3 separate regions of the Homo sapiens genome follow, and regions 1 and 2 are each linked to region 3. The links are contacts of gene promoters, found by promoter capture Hi-C in human tissues and cell types (Jung and others, 2019). All regions are on one chromosome and are shown on one strand. The core of a region is centred on a gene start or on the middle of the fragment in contact, and the rest is flanking DNA. Distances in the headings are between cores, read along the strand shown. Region 1 overlaps LOC105372049 (a long non-coding RNA gene). Region 2 holds the start of LOC105372049 (a long non-coding RNA gene). Region 3 holds the start of B4GALT6 (beta-1,4-galactosyltransferase 6).

Region 1 (4,393 bases), core at 1,227-3,726, 440 kb before region 3:
GGTAAGCACTTAGAAATAAAAACTTAATTTATTGTTTGCACTAGTTCCCCTCTTTTCCCCTCCTCAAGGTGGCTATTTGGGGATTAGCAAATTCTGTGACAAAAGATGGTCAAGTGTAGATACCTAGAAGAAGTCACATCCAGCAATTCCATCAAAAGAGCTCTCTAACCATGTTCCCATAGTGACATGTACCAATATCTTGGGTAAAGGGCACACAGGTGAATTAATTTGGTAGTGGATTTTTATAGACTGTACAATACACTTGACTCTTTGCCAAAATATGAGTGCCTAATTGCTGTGTCTTTGGTGAACATGCCAAAGATTCAGTGATTTTATTCACGTAGGAGGAGGAATGATTTGGGGGAGTAGTTTCAGTGGACAGGTTTTATTGTACTTACTAGATAATAAATTCTTTGAGGCAAGAAGAGTGTTATTGTACTTTTTGTATTTATCACAACACCTAATGAGGTGCCTGACTTATTGGCAATCAATTAATACTATCTAGACAAATGGACTTGAGCAGGTGACCACCTGAAACTAACTAGCACACAATAACAAACACTTGAGCTGCACAGAGACCCAGGTTCTTATCCTGATTCATTCATTTATTGTGGTTTTGGAAAATTTGTAAATCACTTAAATGTACAGGGATTTATGTCTTTTAAGGTATGAAAGCTATGCTGGATAGAGGTGCTTTCTGAAGTCTTTTTTTTTTTTTCATTCAACAAACTTTAGCGCAAAGTAAAAGAGACAATGTTTCTGCTTTCATGGAGTGTATACAATGGGTGAGGGGGTGGGAAGGAACAAGTAAAAAGCAAGGTGATTTCAGAAAGTATTAACTGCTGTGCAGACCATACAACAGGGGAAAGAGATAAAGAGTTAAATCCCCTAAGACGGTCCTGGCTGTTTGTTGGCTTTATTTTTAATTTCTCCTTTTTCTCTAAATAGAAATCAACAGACTTTCTTGAAAAGAGGACTTGATTATCAGAATCAACTGTGGAGTGTTTTACAAATAACAGGTTTTCAATGCTCTACAGATTTTACAGGGATGTAAACCAGAACCCTGAAAGCTCTAGTGTCTTCACAACAGTTCCCTTGAAAACACTGGTACTGCTAGGGGAATGAACAATTTACATATAAATAATTTATATTTTAGTTGTCTCTAAGTGTGAGACTGTAAGAAATTCATTTTGAAAACCACTCAAAGGTTTCCTGATTTTCATACTGTCCTTAGCCGATAAGCTCTTAGACTGATTTGACTTCTAAAATACCTTCTAACTTGAATTCATTTGAAAAGCCCGAAGTGTTAAAACTCATGGATTGAGATAAATAACCTTCCAATGGAGTCTAGCAAATTGGAAACTGGACTTGGTCTTTGATCTCAGGGAGGTACGCGTACTACAGACGGGTCATTGTGCTTGCCCAGACAGGACACGAGGTAAGACTTCCTTACTTAAACTTGACACATACAGCATGGTCAGAAACAGCAGATGGGGTCATTTGTTATCTTTAACACTGTACGCCGGCCCAAGTAGGGCAGGACAGTGGGAATCCCATAAAACAGAGCCAGCTTTCATGCTAGGAGCAGTACTGTAGTCACCCAATCATACGGCAGAAATAGTAAAGGTCATGCTTCCTCCACAGTGGTGAGGTGCAGCAGCTTCCTTGGCAAATGACTTCTGCGTACTCTCCCCACATGGAGGAGATTGGTCATGCAAAGTAGGTGTTTTCAGGGTACAGGAAAGCTTTCCAAGATTGCTTCTAGAAGCTATGGCAAATGTATTTTCAATTTAAATGTATCTTCCTATTATCAGCACTTTAAATTTGCCATTTATCAGAAAGGGCCTTTTTCCTCTTTTCCTTCCTGCATTTGTTTTCTGTGTAGGTTTGCTTTTTGTCTGTTTGTTTTGGCCTTTGAGGAATGTGACTTCCTAAGGTCACCCTGGAAAACAAAGAAGCAAAACAAAACAAAAAAAGAACTCCGTTTTCACTAAAATGGAGTCCGAAGATGTGGGTTCAGTGCTTTATCTGGCTGTCTCTGTAACCTGGGGATCACATTCGTCTCACAGGGAAAGTTTTGTGAAGATCAAATAAGAAATAATTTGGATATTGAAATGCTCCCCAAGGTTCAAAGACCTGCACATTTAGAATGCTTGGCAGCCCCTGGTCTTTTTGTGTGTGCTGCACTTGGGACATTTATCAGAATCTGAACACATCAGAAACTGACCCAATGATAGAAAAGAACTGGAACTAGGGGTGATCAGAATAACCTCCTGAGAAGGCCGTCCCAATGGAGAAAGGAGTTAGTGTCCTGAGCTTTGTGGTCCTGCACCAGCTCTTGGCTAGTCTGCTGCTGAAGTATTCTGTCAGACCTGAAGAAAAATAGAGGGCAATAAGAATCGGTACTGACAAACAGGCCCAGGCACCACACTCCCGAAGACCAACACCATAAACAATCTGCCTGGCAGGGTTAGAGTCTGTAGAGGCTGGGGAGGCAGTAGTACCCAGAGAAAAACAACTCGAAAGTGGAACCTTTTGAATAACAGCCCATCTCACAGTAGAGTCCTTTACACCAACAAAAACGAGTCTTGGTCAGTGTCTCTAACATACGTTTAATTTCCTAGACAAATCTTGCATCTCTTCATGATTTAGCTTCTTGTTTACAATGCAGCTTTCTTAAATGGAAAGGAAACTGCTGAATCTCAAATTGCTGTGTAGTTTGTCAGACAATGACATCCTTCACTGCCAGCGTTGAGCACACTCCCTTTTTAATCCATTTTGCCTGATGAAGCATAGCATTTTCTGCAGCCTTCTGAGCTGTTAAGAGAATATTTCAACTGCAAACACAAAGAAGAAATGTTTGAAGTGAAATGAACTATGGGCTAATCGGGAAGGGCTTGAATGAATGTCAAAATAAGAGCTCACCTACTGCACATTTTTAAAAAGAAGTCTATGTTAATGGAGTCAAAACACTGGCTTCAGTGTTTTATCTTTATTGATGAAATTACCACATTTGAAAAGTAAACACTATTTTATTTTATGTCTGATAGAAAATATATATACGCTATGGAAGAAATTTTGAAAATACAGAAAAGCAAAAACAAAATGATGAAATAAAATAATCTTTAACTTCCCACATTCAGATGTGAAGCACTGCTTATATTTTGTTTTTATGATACAAAAAGAAGTCTGTAATGCAAGCTGTCCTTCCCTTAGCAGTCTGACAAATGTATTGCATTGGTGTAAAAGTAATTGCGGTCTTTGTCTTTACTTTTAATGGCAAAAAACACAATTACTTTTTCATCAACCTAATATATTTGGCTCGAGTTAAAAATATTTTTTAAATGATTAAAAGTAAACACTAATCTAGCATATAGGACTTACAGCTTAAAAATATTAAATACACAAATTTTCTGTCCTCAGTAAGCTAACATCTCAGGTTTTATATGACTTATATGAATGAAATGACAATGTGTTATTTTTGAAAGCTTATTCAAATAGTAGGAGAGGACATACGAAAACAAAATATGAGGTTTGGGGGCTTGACTCCTCCCTGAGAAAACGCAAGAAGCTCTTTCTCAGAGGAGTCATACCTAAATAGCCTGTGTGGGTGTGGTTAGTGTTTTTATTTAAGTGGGCGGGGAATGGAAGCTTCTTTTGGTCTTGCTGAACATTTAGCTTGGATTTGTTTTATTTATATGGCTACCTAGTTTTTGCTCTGATGGTATAAACCCTGGCTTTTATTTCAAAGTGTTTTTATTTCCATTTTTTAATTTAAAATAATCCCATAACTTCTTTAGTCTCAAGAGCCTATCCATGTCAACCTTATTAGTTCCTACTTGTTAATACTTTTAGAAGTTTGAATTTAGTTGGTACTTTGGATTAATGTCCTAACATAAAATATTCTATTTTATACCATGCTTGGAATCCGAAACTCTTATTCCAAAATGAAATCTGACATCTCACCAGCAAACCTTGTGCCTTGTATTTATATTGTAGAATATCTTAGAAACCAGTCCACTGGTACTGCTCAGTAATTATCTCAGGACAAGTAGGTGCTATTGATTTGTTAGCCACCGTTGTCTTAAATTAAACTTGGATAGTGATATATGGGTACCAGGTTAAATGTTCAGAGGAATGATGCTTAGAAGACAGAATGAACAGAATGGAAGTTGGAGGATCTATTAGAAATGGGTCTAGATAGGACACAGAAAACAGGAAGTGGAGACCAGATGCCCTCCCACCCTCCCCGACAACCCCAGAAAAAGATGGCTCAGATAGAGTGAGTCTGGCTGATAGCTTTGGTCATTCAGCTGCCACAGTTTGGTGTATGTTTCCAGAAAACAGGAAGTAAAGCAGTCCTGACAACAGCCATAGACAAAAGCTCTCAAGA
Region 2 (4,468 bases), core at 93-2,592, 460 kb before region 3:
TTTTCTGGCCAAAAACCTAGAATTCACCTGAGTTGACTCTGCTCCCTTTCACTCTACAGTCAATTCATGAGCATGTCCTAAGGGGCTCATAATTCAAAATGTATCCAGAATGTGAGCTGATCATGTCCCTCACTGCCACCATTCTAGACTAAGCCACCTTCATCACTCACCTGGGCTCTTGCAATTGCCTCTGAAGTCTTCTTTCTGCTCCAACATAGTCAAGTCTCTTTTTGAAAATATAAATGAAATCTTATCGTTACTTGGCTCAATTGTTTCTTGCAGAGTAAGATTCAAGCTTTGCACTATGTACTGGTCTGGCCTGTGCTCTCTGGCTTATTTCACTCCAGTCATCCTGTTTCTTTTGCATCCCAACCTCAGGCCCTTTGGCTTTTACTTATCTTTAAAACAAGTGAGGCAGAAATGGTAACCAGCCATTTGACTCACATTGCATTGGCAAGAATGCCATCACATCACATTATCATCTGCAAAGGACTCAGAGAAATGTAATCTCTGCCAAGGAAGTCATATGATCAACTTAAATTCTATTACTACAACACAGGAGATAATGGAATTTGGTGGACAGTTAGCAGTTTCTGACACAATATTTGGCTCTAGCCACCCCACTGTTTAGATGTAAATTTCCTTCCACAAATGGAACATACTTGTTCCCTTTCCAAAGTAGGTAAGCTGAAGTCTAATTCAGTTATTTCATCCAGCTCAAAGTTCAGGATCACTAGTTGAAACACAGTCCTCTCCACCAGATCAATATGTTACCTCCCTCCAATTCCCACCCCACAAATAAACAGTAGCAGAGCAGGAATAGGATAAATGCAATATAAGCCACAATTTGGAAAAGGAAAGCATGAGAAGCACACTACAGAGACTGATCTAGAGAAGTTATCACTGTGCTGGGTGGGAGTCATTCATCTGTCTGCTCTGGGAGGTGAGTGGGTTCTTGGTTGACCCGTCTGGCTGTCCCTGGTTCTACTCTCTGAGAGGAACTCCTTTGCCTGTGGTCGTTGTGGCCTCTGACCTTGCCTTCTGGGCACTTATTTTGTGTCTTTTACATGAATATCAGAAGACTACTTCATGCCTCACAATTTTGCTTTTCCAAATTATGCTGATGGCTAATTTGGTAACGCAATCCATTGAAAACATAGTAACTGCAGGGTTTTTTTCCTTATAATTGATTGCATGTTTCAATAACCATACCTCATTTTTTTAAAATTTAGTTTTAAGTGTATCTGCTTTCTGACTTTTATACTGTAACTATCTGTGTTAGGCTGTTCTTGTGTTGCTATAAAGAAATGCCTGGCCAGGCGCAGTGGCTCACACCTGTAATCCCAACACTTTGGGAGGCCAAGGTGGGTGGATCACTTAGGTCAGAAATTCAAGACCAGCCTGGCCAACATTGTGAAACTCTGTCTCTACAAGAATACAATAATTAGCCAGGTGTGGTGGTGCATGTCTGCAGTGCCAGCTACTTGGAAGCTGAGGCAGGAGAATCACTTGAACCCGGGAGGTGGAGGTTGCGTGAGCCAAGATCATGCCACTGCACTCCAGCCTGGGTGACAGAATGAGACTCTGTCAAAAAAAAAAAAAAAAAAAAAAAAAGAAGGAGGAAGGAAGGAAGGAGAAAAAGAAATACCTGAAACTGAGTAATTTATAAAGAAAAGAGATTTAATTTGCTTATGGTTCTGCAGGCTATATAGGAAGTGTGGTGCTGGGCATCTGAGGCTTCAGGGATCTTTTACTCATGGTGAAAAGCAAATTGGAAGCAGCGGTGAGAGTTGGTGGGGGGGCAGTGCCACACAATTTTAAACAACTAGACCTCACGAGAACTCATTCACTATCATGAAGACAGTACCAAGCCATGGCCATGAGGGATCCACCTCCATAACCCAAACACCCCCTACCAGACCCCACCTTCAACATTGGGGATTACATTTCAACCTGAGACTTAGAGGGAACAACATCCAAACTGTATCGCCATCTTCTCACACTATCTTTCTGGAAATTTCTAACCACTTCACCTAGAGGAACAAGCTCAGTGGGAAATGTGCTTGTCTTGCAAATCATCACATGTCATATTCTTACCAAATGTTTTCAACACATGACTGAAGGTAACCGTAGTTCCCATCTACTATATTTTGTCCTTTCTGTGTGTTACTTGATTTTCAAGCCAAAATCACATCTTTTCTGTTTTTGTGATGTCTATCTGCATCCCACTTTCAATACCAGTCTCTTCAACATTATGTCAAAAAGCTAAGCTACAGTAATAAAGAGATCCCAAAATATAGTCACTTCTCAAAATAAACATTGATTTGTTTCATATATAACCTAATAGTCCCCAAATGAGCAGTTCAGGGTTCCAAGGTGACTCTGCTCTACATAGCCATCCAGGAATCCAGATCTCTTCCTTTTTTTTTTCTTTTCAGCATCTCAGACTTTCTTTTTAACTTTATGGTCAAAGTTGGCTAGTGAGCATATTTGTGTTCAGCTTGAAGAATAGGAAAATCAAGGCCAGCAATTTTCCTTTAAATTGTGGCAGAAATTTTACGTATCACTGCTGCTCATACTCTACTGGTGAGAACTTCATCACATGGCCATAACCAGGCAGTCTCTAACTTCGTGTGTGCAAAACATTATTCCTAGCATGTAAGTGGACTGGGATAACATTTTATTTGTGATAAGTGATTACAACAATACCACAAGGTAGATTATGTTGCATTTGAGGTATACTAATAAAGGTATCACGTGTCAATTATCTATTACAGGTCAAGAGTGAGTGGCTAGTTTCCTTTTGACTTAGTTGTGTCTTACAGGTTTTTTTGTTTTCTTTACAATAGAGTCTAACTATTTGCCTGTTTGGACAGTAACATATGAGAACTTTTATGCTCATAAAGAATCCTCCTTTTAAGAATTTCCTGGAATAAGATAAAAAATATTATGGTATCTCTATAGGCCAAAGAGAAAATGAAACTTGGAAATGTATAAAAAATGATAATAACAAAGAGGCGTGGAAAAGAATTCTAACTCAAGTTCCTTAACTGAAATCCACAGTTTGACTGTGAGATAAAGCTACCTCCAAGTGTGAATTCACTTCCCCAACATTACAAGACACCATACTGCTTTTAAGCTTGTGAGAATTAAGACACTCTTACAGTGGAGTCCACAATAAATAACAATTCATTGTATGAAATATGAAATATTATGTACCTTTTTGATCATTGTGAAGTTGTTATCAATTTTGCTTTATTTTTAATTTCTTTTAGATTTTTGGTTATACAATGACCCCATGCTGTAATTCTCAAGTATGACTCAGTCATGAGTCCGTAGTAAAAAAGAAAAAATAGCAGGATAATCATCCAGGTAGCCTCCTGTTTCAACCAAGTAGAATTAACAATGCTTTGTTTAAACAAGTCTCATTTTCAGTAGTGAAAGACGGTCTTTTCTGTTCAGTGAGTCATACCCAACCAAAGACATGCCAGAATGATGCAGTGACTACATAGAAATAATACAGGCTCTGTCTTACCTCTCTGAGAAGGAAAAACGCAACCTATGTTGGTTAAATAAGTTTTTGATTAAGTGAGACATTCAATTGCCAAATGAATATAAATTTCTTCAAAATATGTTTAATAGTTTATTTTCTGATTACATGTGTGGCCTTAATTCTGTTGAGTTCAACTTGATAGAATGTCAAATTCAGAGAGATTCATAAGTTTATAGTTCTTATGAAATGTCAGATTACGAGTAGGGTTGTTTTAAAACTCAAGGGAAGTAACACATTTTTAAAAAGAATTGAGCCTACTGATCTCTTAAGAGATTCGATTTTTTAGAACTTTCGTATATCAGAATCTCAGCCAGGCATGGTGGCTCATGCATATAATCCCAGCACTTGGGGAGGCAGAGGCGGGCGAATCACCTGAGGTCAGGAGTTCGAGACCAGCCTGGCCAACATGGCGAAACCCGATCTCTACTAAAAACACAAAAAAATTAACCGGACATGGTAGTATGTGCCTGTAGTCCCAGCTACTCGGGAGGCTGAGGCACCACTTGAACCTGGGAGGTGGAGGTTGCAGTGAACTGAAATCATGCCACTGCACTCCAGCCTGGGTGACAGAGCAAGACTCTGTCTCAAAACAAAACAAAACAAAGCAAACAAAAAAACTTCACTTAACAAGAGTTGGCAAAAAGATCAATAATGAAGTAAAAGGTATCTGACCTGTTAAGTCACTGTCATGAGATCAATGAAGTTAAAGCTCATGCAATTCATGCTTCGAATTTTATATCTTCCTTCAGAAACTGTTTACTTTCAGTTTTCACACTTTTAAGTGTTTTATTAAATCACTTTCAAATCCAGTGATGATTAGAAACAGCCAAATAGGAAAGAGAGTTAAGCACACTGCATATAAATAAAACAATGACTATTCATAATGTTGATCCTGAATTATTAACAAAAGGAGAA
Region 3 (4,920 bases), core at 1,875-4,374:
ATAATGTAAAGACTATCCCTGTGTTTCCTGTATGCATTAGACACTTCAAGAAAAATGGTTCCTTGAAAATAATGAGCTTTGAGTTCTATGGAACTCACTGTAGTTGACCCAAATAGTCCAGAAATAGACTATTTCAGAGGAACATCTGAAAACACTGGAAACTAAACAGATTACGCTGCCTACAACTGTGTGATGTATCTGCTCAAGATGGCAAAGAAGAGGAACTAAAATGACAGAAGATCTACCTGGGAAGAAAGCCCATGACATACACAGGGCTCAGGACAGAAAACAAGTAGGGAAAGAGAATTAAAGTTTACCAAACAGGTTGATATGGTAGGATTAATAGGAATTTCTTAACAGAGGAGATTTGAAACGCTTTTTAGGGCACATAAAAAGTACTTACAACATACATTTTAGTCATAAACACATTTTGCCCCAAGATGTAATTCAGGCTAAAATATGAATTATTTTCTTGAAGTTATTATTTCAAGAAAAATCCACATACATCGAATAAAAACTAGTTATAAGAACCTAATTACTTCTGGATATGTCTCATAAATAAGAAATCTGAAGCACTTGTGCAATTGATTGATTGCTGCAGTATGGACTCAACAAGCCACATTTTTCATGGAACATCATTTTTACTTGAAAGAACAACTGAAAAACTATGGTTAAACTTGTGCATCTGACCTACATTTTCTCGAAAATGAGCAAAGTGAGCCTGACACTTCAAGAAAAACTGACAGTATTTGTTGCCAATGATAAAATTCAAACTTTCAAGCGAAAATCTGAATTTTGGAAAACTGCTTCCCAATACTTAAAGATACAAAAGATTAAAAAGGAGGCTTTTTTTGGCTAAATGGTACAGGGTTTTGGAAACAGATTCAGCTTGACAATTTCACAGCATTTTGTAAGTTTTTGGTTTGCACTCTTCTAACTGGTTTTAATAACTTATTATCATTTATAAGACCTACAAAAACAGAGTAGGTTAAGCCACATCAATCTAATTGCCTACAAGACACGTGCCAACATTTTTACATTATATCAGTGACCGTTCTATGGCAAACATTAAGCATTCAAATAAGGAAAATTTATTAGTGTTTCACACAAGTTGAATTAAGAATCTACAAATAATATACTGACGCACTAACTTTAAAAAAAAAGGGATGACTAGAATTCTGATTTCCTTTGGTTAGCTTTTTGAGTAATATAACTTTAACATGTTACTCATAATACTAAGAAAGTGGGAAAATTGTTATGTAAGTGTGAAAAAAACTTTCTCCAAAATCTTTCAAAGTTAAATTCCTAGTAAAAAAACATACCCCAAAGATGTCCAAACTTTTAAAGAGTTACATGAGAAAGTAAAAATTGCTATAGAATGAAGAGTTAATTTATAAGACTCCAAAATGGCAAAAAATAAAGAAAGCTCTTGTTGAGTATCTAGATAATATCAAATCCACTAAGCTACCACTGTCATTTGTACTATAGGCTTCAAGGGGTAGGTTTTTGTGAGGTTTTTTGTTTTTTCTGGCCTAAAGGAAAACTGCAATAATGTTAAAATATTCTTCAAACTTTACCCTAAAACTTCTATTTTGGGATACGTCAACGTTTCACAATGCATTTCTTCTTAAACATCATCATCTGAGTTTATACACCTCACTGAATCCAAAAATTAATTATTAAAGAAAAAGTCTCATAGTAATTTTAAGAAATGAAGCAGTCTGGATTAGGTTTCCATCTTCCTTCCCTGCTGCAATTCACTGCAATAATCTACTACACTCAAGACAATGCCCTGATCATTCCATCTGAAAATTCTGCAGGTGTTTTCACTCTGTAAGGGGCATTACATTTTTAGCTAACTCGGAACAAAGAGCACTGGCTCAAACGACCACAGTGTGTAAGGAGAAATGAGAGGAGATGCTCACTGTTACTAAGTAATTGAACATTAAATACGTAATAGCCAGGAAAAACTCAGAAAAGTTTTGGAAATATGACATATTTTAATATGCATGTGAAGTTCATAATTCTCATTCACTAGAATTAACGCCGCATTGGCTCCTTTTCAACAAATGGGGGACGAGGAATTCGGATATTTAATAAAGAAGTTAATTCAAGCAGTTTTACAAAAGTGTATTTTGCACCAAAGGCCAAAAAATGATAAACCGGTTAACATTTTAAACTACAAGTTCCCTTAGATAACGGTTATTTTAATCACTATTTTCTCAGAAGTCATCCTAACAGGTAGCAAAGGCAACGTACCCTTGAAAATAACACCCAAGCAGACTAAAATAATGGAGCATTGTTTTTACAAGACAACTCATCGCCTTAAAATTCCCCAAGTATGGCACAAAAAGAATGGGGTCCACTGACCCCATTCTAAAAAAGCGACCTAGGACCCTAGAAAACACACATTGTTGGACTCAATCACATTCCCTGCTGCTGGCTCCTCCATATTTTTACAACCAGTTATTATACCCGAGAGTGTTTGAATAAAACTACGATTAAGCACTCAGTTTAGGCTTAAAGACTTAACATTAAATGGATAAAGCTGTCATGAACACTCAAGAAAGCGACTAGGGCATCCCGGGCCATCACACTAATTTTGCTACGTCTATTTAATGCAATCTTTTACGTTATTAACAAACATGCATTAACAAAATGCATGCATTAACAAAACTCACATACCAAAGCCATGCCCTGAAGCAGTTTGACACGTCTGAAATAACATTTAAAACAAAACGCTTTTCTGCGGGCCCCTGTTTGAACAGCTTCCAAATCCCAGAAGTAACATCGGATAACAGCCTGCGCTGGCTGTGGTGTGACCAGGGGAAGCGAGGGTGTGTCTCGGTGCTTACCGATGCCTGGGGCCACATAGATGAAGTACAGACAGGACGAAGAGAGGGAGAAGAAGAAGATGAAGGCGAGGAGAGAGCGATTGGAAACCCGCATCATCCGCCTGAGCACAGACATCTTCCTCTTCCCTGCCAGCAGCCCAGGCTGCGCTCTCAGGCCGGACTCGGGGCCACTGTCCAGGCCCTAAACTTCCATAAATGTGCTGAGAACCCCGAGACTGCAGCGGGGTCCGCGCGGGGAGGCTCTGGGGAGAGGGCCCGAGCGGAAAAGAGGAAATGGGAGGGAGCGGACGGAATGAATGGGAGGCCAGAGAGTCGGGGGAGGGGAGGCGCGGAGGCCGAGGGACAAGAGGTGGAGGGGGGAGAGGGGACTGGGGGCTAGGGGCCCGGGGACGGCAGGACGGAAGAAAGCCGGGGAAGGGCGAGGAGGAGCGTTTTCTCCGCCAAGCAGCGGCGGGAGGAGGGGCTGCAGGTGGGAGGAGGCGCAGGCTGCGCGCCGCGGCGCCCCTGCGGAGAGGGGCAGCTAACTGCAGCACGCCCGGCTCCGCTGCCCGCGCCCGGCGGGGTCCCGCCGCGAAGCCCCGTGCTTAAGGTCCGGGCCGCCCGCGTCCGCTCGGCAGGCCCTGCGCCGCCTCCTACTCCGGGCCGCGGCGTCTCCTGCCTGCGCGGGGCTAGCGTGGGCGCCGGGGCCGCAACCAGCGCGCGCCACGCGCGGGGGCCCGCGGGGGCCCTCGGGGCCGAGGAGCTGGGCGCTCGCCTGCACCGAGCCGCCTCCTCATGCCGCGCCGGGCCCCGGCGCCCCGCGGCCGCCGCGGGAGCTGAGCACAGGCCAGGGCGGCGTCCCGGCCAGCGACGAACGCGCTCCGACTCCGGCCGCCGCCAGCTGCCTGCCTGGCCGCAAGGGCGGCAGCGGCATTACCGCCGCGCGCCCGGGGTGAGGCGCCCCCGCCGGGCCCGCGGACACCAGGCGAAGAGCAACCGGGCGACGCGCGCTGCGGGCAGAGCCGGGGAGCCGGAAGAGCAGAGGCCGAGCGCCGTCGGAGCCGCGTCTGGTTGGAGAAAGAGGCGGACGTGAAGGGGCGGGGGAGCCGCGGAGGAAAACCGGGACCGGCGGGAACGTCTCGAGACCCCTGCGCGCTTCGCGCGCTCGCTCGGAACTCGGCAGGCGGCGCTGCGCCGGGCCCCGAGGAAACCTGGAGGTCCCCGCCCTCCCCGCGCCCGAAACACCGCGCGTCCTGATAGGCCCGCGCCCAGCAGCCCCCTCCCCGCGCCCGCCGCACCGGGGCCCCACCGCCTCCTGCGTCACCGCCGCCCCCGCCCGCCCGGGGACCCCGCGGTGACCGCGCTGCTGGGGGTTGAGGGACGCGTTGCGAGCCCCGGATACATTGTACCCTGGGGGTACATAATGAAGGATGCTGTACCTGAAAGGAAAAGGGCATCTCCAAAAGGGGACTTCGCGGGTGGAATTTCCTTCCAAAATCCTCGAGGAACAAGGTGTATTTCCGACCTGGATTAATGAATCCCCCCTCCTATCCCGCACTTCCTGTGGAAACAGTGTCAGGATGTGGCGCGGACCTATGTGCGTCCCTTATACCAGGACTTGCCTTCAACGCTGAAGGTGAACCCTGGGTCATCCTCGCTGTATTCAGGCGGCGCTGCAAAGGCTTCTGGGCAGCCAATAGGCCCTTGAGCGCCTCAGCCCCATCTTGCTTCAGTAGGCAAACGGACGGGTGTCTTCATCCACCTCCTAGGCCGTGGTCTACCCTTCGTTCAAATGTTTCTTCCTGCTAGCTGACTGTCCAGGTCCTTAGCTGTATCACATTGTTCAAATGTGTGTGCGCAGGTGTTTCTTTTTCAACTAATCATGCAGGAAGTGGCGGGATGCCTTACTGCCATTATTTGCTGAGTATTTCCAGATGGAACTGTAGTTGATAGCCAATAAATTTGGTACGTTTTTATCGGGATGCGCATGCCATAGATCGTCCCTGAGATAATGCTTTGCAATGTGGAACCTGAAACACCTATGTATAAGCCCAAGCCTTTCATTAATATTAACTGTGAGACCCCT

The links. The method cuts DNA at HindIII sites, captures the fragments that hold promoters and counts their contacts. A contact is called where the count stands out against the background at its distance.
Region 1: a contact is called between a fragment that was not itself captured here and the fragment with the promoter of B4GALT6 in region 3, in 1 of the 25 tissues and cell types used here (lymphoblastoid cells).
Region 2: a contact is called between a fragment that was not itself captured here and the fragment with the promoter of B4GALT6 in region 3, in 1 of the 25 tissues and cell types used here (lymphoblastoid cells).

What each region holds. Positions count from the first base shown.
Region 1 is chr18:31,242,408-31,246,800 of GRCh38, forward strand. All of the region lies in intron 1 of LOC105372049 (a long non-coding RNA gene), which reads left to right. Among named protein-coding and RNA genes, the nearest start is that of DSG1, 74 kb to the right of the region's middle. The HindIII fragment of the contact is 3,577 bases long and covers 689-4,265 here.
Region 2 is chr18:31,227,268-31,231,735 of GRCh38, forward strand. LOC105372049 (a long non-coding RNA gene) reads left to right here and starts at 845. Exons shown (of 4, transcript XR_001753388.2): 1 at 845-943. The HindIII fragment of the contact is 5,175 bases long and covers 1-3,930 here.
Region 3 is chr18:31,681,457-31,686,376 of GRCh38, forward strand. B4GALT6 (beta-1,4-galactosyltransferase 6) reads right to left here and starts at 3,125. Exons shown (of 9, transcript NM_004775.5): 1 at 2,856-3,125. The coding sequence starts at 2,970. RefSeq lists an enhancer at 1-25 and a silencer at 3,222-4,261. The HindIII fragment of the contact is 7,513 bases long and covers 1-4,845 here.